Linked DNA regions of Homo sapiens: region 1 is linked to region 2. Evidence: promoter capture Hi-C in human tissues and cell types (Jung and others, 2019). All regions are on one chromosome and are shown on one strand. Each heading gives the region's core, a stretch centred on a gene start or on the middle of the fragment in contact. The rest is flanking DNA. Distances are from core to core; before and after follow the strand shown. Region 1 has its middle 26 kb from the start of HEYL. Region 2 holds the start of MYCL (MYCL proto-oncogene, bHLH transcription factor).

The links. Contacts are between HindIII fragments. The study calls those that stand out against the background at their distance.
Region 1: a contact is called between a fragment that was not itself captured here and the fragment with the promoter of MYCL in region 2, in 1 of the 25 tissues and cell types used here (lymphoblastoid cells).

The regions. Positions count from the first base shown.
Region 1 is chr1:39,612,377-39,615,076 of GRCh38, forward strand. No RefSeq gene overlaps it. Among named protein-coding and RNA genes, the nearest start is that of HEYL, 26 kb to the right of the region's middle. RefSeq lists an enhancer at 1,113-1,282. The HindIII fragment of the contact is 4,795 bases long and covers 1-2,700 here.
Region 2 is chr1:39,900,437-39,903,167 of GRCh38, forward strand. MYCL (MYCL proto-oncogene, bHLH transcription factor) reads right to left here and starts at 1,481. Exons shown (of 2, transcript NM_001033081.3): 1 at 503-1,481. The coding sequence starts at 998. RefSeq lists silencers at 735-854, 1,265-1,584, 1,845-2,054. The HindIII fragment of the contact is 12,166 bases long and covers 1-2,731 here.

The DNA of each region.
Region 1 (2,700 bases), core at 33-2,532, 290 kb before region 2:
TCACTGCAAGCTCCGCCTCCCGGGTTCACGCCATTCTCCTGCCTCAGCCTCCCCAGTAGCTGGGACTACAGGCGCCCACCACCACGCCCGACTAATTTTTTGTATTTTTAGTAGAGACAGTGTTTCACCGTGTTAGCCAGGATGGTCGCGATCTCCTGACCTCGTGATCCGCCCACCTCAGCCTCCCAAAGTGCTGGGATTACAGGCGTGAGCCACCGTGCCCGGCCTTTTTTTTCTTTGTGGAACACATCTGTAACCTTAGAAGATGAAAAATTAATTAACCTCTGTTACCGGTGATGGAACTTTCTTCCTTAGAGTGTCCTTGATGAGGATACTTATGTAACATAACCTCAGGAAGATTTAGAACTAAGACTAGCATGCTAAACCAAAAATTTAAATCTTAGCATTGGCCGGGCATGGTGGTTCACGCCTGTAATCGCAGCACTTTGGGAGGCCGAGGCAGGCGGAACTCTTGTGGTCAGGAGTTCGAGACCAGCCTGACGAACATGGTGAAGCCACGTCTCTACTAAAAATACAAAAATTACCCAGGTGTGGTGCTGCGTGCCTGTAATCCCAGTTACTGAGGAGGCTGAGGCAGAAGAATCGCTTGAACCCGGGAGGCAGAGGTTGCAGTGAGATGAGATTGCATTACTGCACTCCAGACTGGGCTACAGAGTGAGACCCCGTTCTCATAAAAAACAAAGACAAAAAACCTTAGCATTAATATTTCTGTTCAAAGAAATAATCTAGATACATTTAGGGTTTTTGTTTTGTTTTCTGTTTTTGTTTTTGAGACAGGGTCTCACTCTGTTTCCCAGGCTGGAATGCAGTAGCTGGATCTCAGCTCACTGAAACCTCTGCCTCCCCGGCTCAAGTGATCCTCCCACCTCAGCCTCCTGAGTAGATAGGATCACAGGCGTGCGCAACCATGTCTGGCTAATTTTTAAATTTTTTGTGGAGATGAGGTCTCACTATATTGCCCAGGCTGTTCTCAAACTCCTGGGCTCAGGCAATCAGCCTCAGCCTCCCAAAGTCCTGGGATTACAAGTGTGAGTCACAGTGCCCAGCCCTAGTTTTTTAGATAAACAGATTTTTGAGAGAACTTAAGATTCATCCTATTTATAACTTGGATTTACTTGATGTATAAGAATGATTTAAATCTTCAGGAAGGTTTTGTTTATACAGATAACTGAGCGTCCTGTGTGGGAGCCGCGGGAGCTGCGTGAGGGGAGAAGAAAAGGCACACACACAATACCTTTAAGGGTAAACAAGCTTTATCCCACGTAAATGGCAATGCAGATATAATAAGCAAATGATATAATAAGGAAATTAATATAATAAGCAAATTGATATAAGTAAATGACATAATAAGCAAATTGCAATGGGAAGGGGAGAAGGGAAAAGAGATATACACATATTTACACTCACCAGACTATGGAGGATTCACCACCAGACTGGGAAGCAACAGCCTGGGCTCCAGAGTCGGCCACTCATCCATGCACAGATGAGGAGAGGTCTCATGAAGCTTCAGCGCAGCTGGGACCCTAGCTCTTTTTGTAACGAGTTGTTTGGCATGAGGTCCGGTCACGAGGGCCCTTCATTATCGGTCTCAAGGAACACAAAAAGGTCAACTTGTTTTTGCGATTGTGTGTTGTTTTTCAATAACTAATGTATAGGAATAGATTGAAATAGAGATTCCTCCGAAACAGTGCTGGATGAACGCCTCAAGGGGCTCACACAACCTGTTCAGGGACTTGGTGACCATTGTTTGTGTCCATGTTCAGTTGAGTTCAAATTTAATATTTAACTTTTCTTCCACACTGAGATACTGAAAAAGAAAATCAAACCTATTCATTTACGTTTGAAGATATAAAGTTGTAAAAAGCCCCTTAGAAGCATTTGCTAAAATCTAGATTTTCAAACAAGGTTTGTAAGCTGAATTTTATTTATACTTTTTAAATATTTTATTATTATTAAATTTTAATTTTTTGTAGACATGGGGTCTTGATATGTTGCCCATACTGGTCTCCAGCTCCTAGCCTCAAGTAATCTTCCTGTCTCGGCTGCCTAAATTGCTGGGATTACAGGTGTGAGCCACCACGCCTGGCCAATAGGTTGAATCTTAAGGTTAAGAAAGAATTAGTAGTGTTTTGAACTAGTAACTTTAATAAATAGAAACTAATTGTTTACTCCAGAAATAAACTTCCAAATAGTCTTTTCTGTGACTGAAAACCATCCTCAGGACTCAACCCAAATATGCATCAAAAGGTGAATGGATAAACAAATTGGGATCTATCTGTACAATGGAATACTACACAGCAACGAAAAGAAAGAGCAACTCATTCACAGAACTTGATGAATTTCTAAAGCATTACACTAAGCGAAGAAAGCCAGACTCAAAAGTTTCCCTGCTGTCTAATTCCATTTATACATAGACAAAACCATGGTGGGCCAGGCGTGGTGGCTCACGCCTGTGATCCCAGCACTTTAGGAGGCCGAGGTGGGCGGATCACAAGGTCAGGAGTTCGAGACCAGCCTGGCTAACATGGTAAAACCCTGTCTCTACTAAAAATACTAAAATTAGCTGGGCATGGTGGTGTGTGCCTGTAATCCCAGCTACTGGGGAGGCTGAGGCAGGGGAATGGCTTGAACCCAGGAGGTGGAGGTTGTAGTGAGCCAAGATTGTGCCACTGCACTCTA
Region 2 (2,731 bases), core at 231-2,730:
ACGAGAAGAGGGCATTTATTATTGGCATTTTAAAGTAAAGCCAACTGGAGACCTAGGTTTTTAAAAGGACGAAGGTTTTGGCTTTGCACAAAAGGCTCTCGGCTTCTTCTCCCCCTAGGGGAGTGTGAGTTTCCTAGGGAAAGAGGCAGCAGCAAAAAAACTTCAGGTTTGGAGTGTCTCTTAAGGTACCCCCTTCAATCCCTTACAGTCCAACCCCAGTATTGTCCTCTCTAAGCGCCAACCCTCACCTCAAATCCCTTGTCCCCTGGGGCTCCAATAATCATCAAAGGGAGGCTGGCTCCCACGCCACTTTTCCAAACTGTTTACCAACACACCCACGTGCCAGACAGACACGGTTGGGGACTACACGGGCAGCTTCAGCCAAAGAGAGGCGGAGATGGCCCAAGAGCTTGAGAAGAGCCAATGCCTGACCTCAGGCAGGGGCAGAGCTTTGGCCACCCATGGGGTGGCCCCCTCTTGGATGGCTCGGGGAGGTCCTTACCCGAGTCGCTTGGGCTCTCGGACCCGGAGCAGGCCTGGGTCTTGGGTTCGCCCAGCGGACAGGGGGCGGCGGGCGCCGGGTTGCCGGCTTCGAGGCTGGGAGTGCAGTCCGGGGCGGCGGACGCCTTGGGCGGGTTCCCCCGGGGCGCGCCAGGAGCGAGCCGGTCGCTCACAGCTCTCTCCAGCCGTTCCCGGGCCGAGAAGCCGCTCCACATGCAGTCACGGCGTATGATGGAGGCGTAGTTCCTGCCCCAGCCTTTCGAGTGGCCCCGGGATTCCGCTTCGTCTCCGGTGCACCCTCCGGGCCACGGCTCCGGGGGACCAATCCCGGGGGCCGGGTCCCCTGCGCCGGGACCCAAGCCCCAGGGCGGCGACGTGGGGGGCGATGGCACCAGCTCGAATTTCTTCCAGATGTCCTCGCTGGGCGCCGTGGAGCGGTAGAAATCCTCCCCGCAGTCATAGTCGTAGAAATAGTGCTGGTACGAGTCGTAGTCCATGTCCGCTCCCTGCGGGAGGGAAGGGGGGACGTGCTGACCGGGTGCCGGCCGGGCGAAGGAGGTGTCCCCGGGTCCCTCGGCACAGTCGGCTGCCGGGCTCTCGTTCCTCCCCAACCCCACCAGCTTGCAGCCTGCGCCCAGTCCTCGCGTCCCGGGAAGCCGGGCCCCGGGTCAGAGTGGTAGGGGAAGCCAATCGCAGCGCGCGGACCCGACTGTGGGCAGCGAGTTCAAAGCAAACTTTGCCAGCGCCGCCCGGAGCGCAGCTCCCAGGGCCCGGCGGGGCCGGGCGGGGGCGCGCCGTGCCCAGAAGGCAGCCTGCAGCCAGCCCGCACCGCGGGACCCGCGCCCGTGCCCTGGCCACCCGCAGCCTCACCTCGCTCCAGCCGCCCGCCACCTGGAGCGGACCGGCTCCCCGCCGGCTCGGGGCAGCCCGGCAGCCAGCACACACGCACATGCGCGCCGCCGAGAGCGCGGCCCGCACTCACAAGCGCGCCCCCCCCGCGCGCGCGCCCTCCCTCGCTCGCGCACGGCGGCCCGGACGCTCTCGGGATCGGCGCGGGAGCGCGAGCTGCAGGCGCATTGTTTCCTGACTGCCTTATATCTCGTCGCGCGCCCGGGACCCAGGGACTGGGGGGCGGGCCCTATGGGACAAACCCCGCCCTCTCCCTGCCTACTACGGGCAGTCGACAGGTGGGGCCGGCCCCACCTCCTGGCAGCGCTCGCCCGCTCCGTTCAATCCCCGGTAGCCCCCCAAATAAATTGCACGCTGGGGAGCGCAAACAGGAGGAGGGCTGATGCGGCCCGGCGGCCGCTTGGCGGTGCCAGCCGGCTGAGCTAAACCGTGCTCCTTGCCCACTCCGAGCTGGGGAATTAGGGCTACTCCCCGCCCCACCCTGCGCGCCTACTTTCCCCGGCGCACCCCGCTGGGTTCAGGTGCGCCCGAGCCGCCGCGAGGGGTAGGGGGAGGGAAACGCGCCACCTGGCGGCCCTCAGCCCTGAACTTGGGCTGGTCCCGGCGTCCGTCTGGTCACCCGTCGGCCCGTTTCTTGAGCTCAGTGGCCCAAGCCTGGATGGCATCGAAGCGAAGATTCCGGGATTTAGAGCCCGAAACGTAACCTTCCTGAGCTTCAGTTTCATCTGTAAAATGAAGGGATGGTAATGCTTACCTCACAGGGTTGTTGTGAGGCTTCAGGGAAATAAGAGCATCTAGGGAAGGGGTCTGGTCTAGGTGGAGAGGCAGACGGCGCTGGCTTAGCCCCCGCTTTGGGGAGGCGGTGCAGAAATGAGGAATTTTTCCCAGGGCAAAGCCAGCTGAGACCCGCCATGCTCCCTCTCATCTCACACAAAACACTGTAGGAGCTGTACAGTAGAGAATGAGGATTTGGCATCTGGAAAATACTGCAGGACCAAGTTGTTTCAAGTTTTGCCCTGCATTGCTGGCCAAGATGATAGATAACCCCTTTGTATAATCTTCTTTTTAAATTTTAAATATATTTTGTTAAGAGACAGGGTCTCACTCAGCGTCAAGGCTGGAGTGCAGTGGCTCGATCATGACTCGCTGCAGCCTCGAACTCCTGGGCTCAAATGATCCTCCCTCCTTAGCCTCCGAAAGTGCAGGGATTACAGGCACGGGTCACCGTGCTGGGTCCCCCTTTGTGTCATCTTCTACACAGATGACCTTTGGTGGAAGAGAAAAAATTAAACTATACGGCCAGTCTGAGATTTAGGCCAGA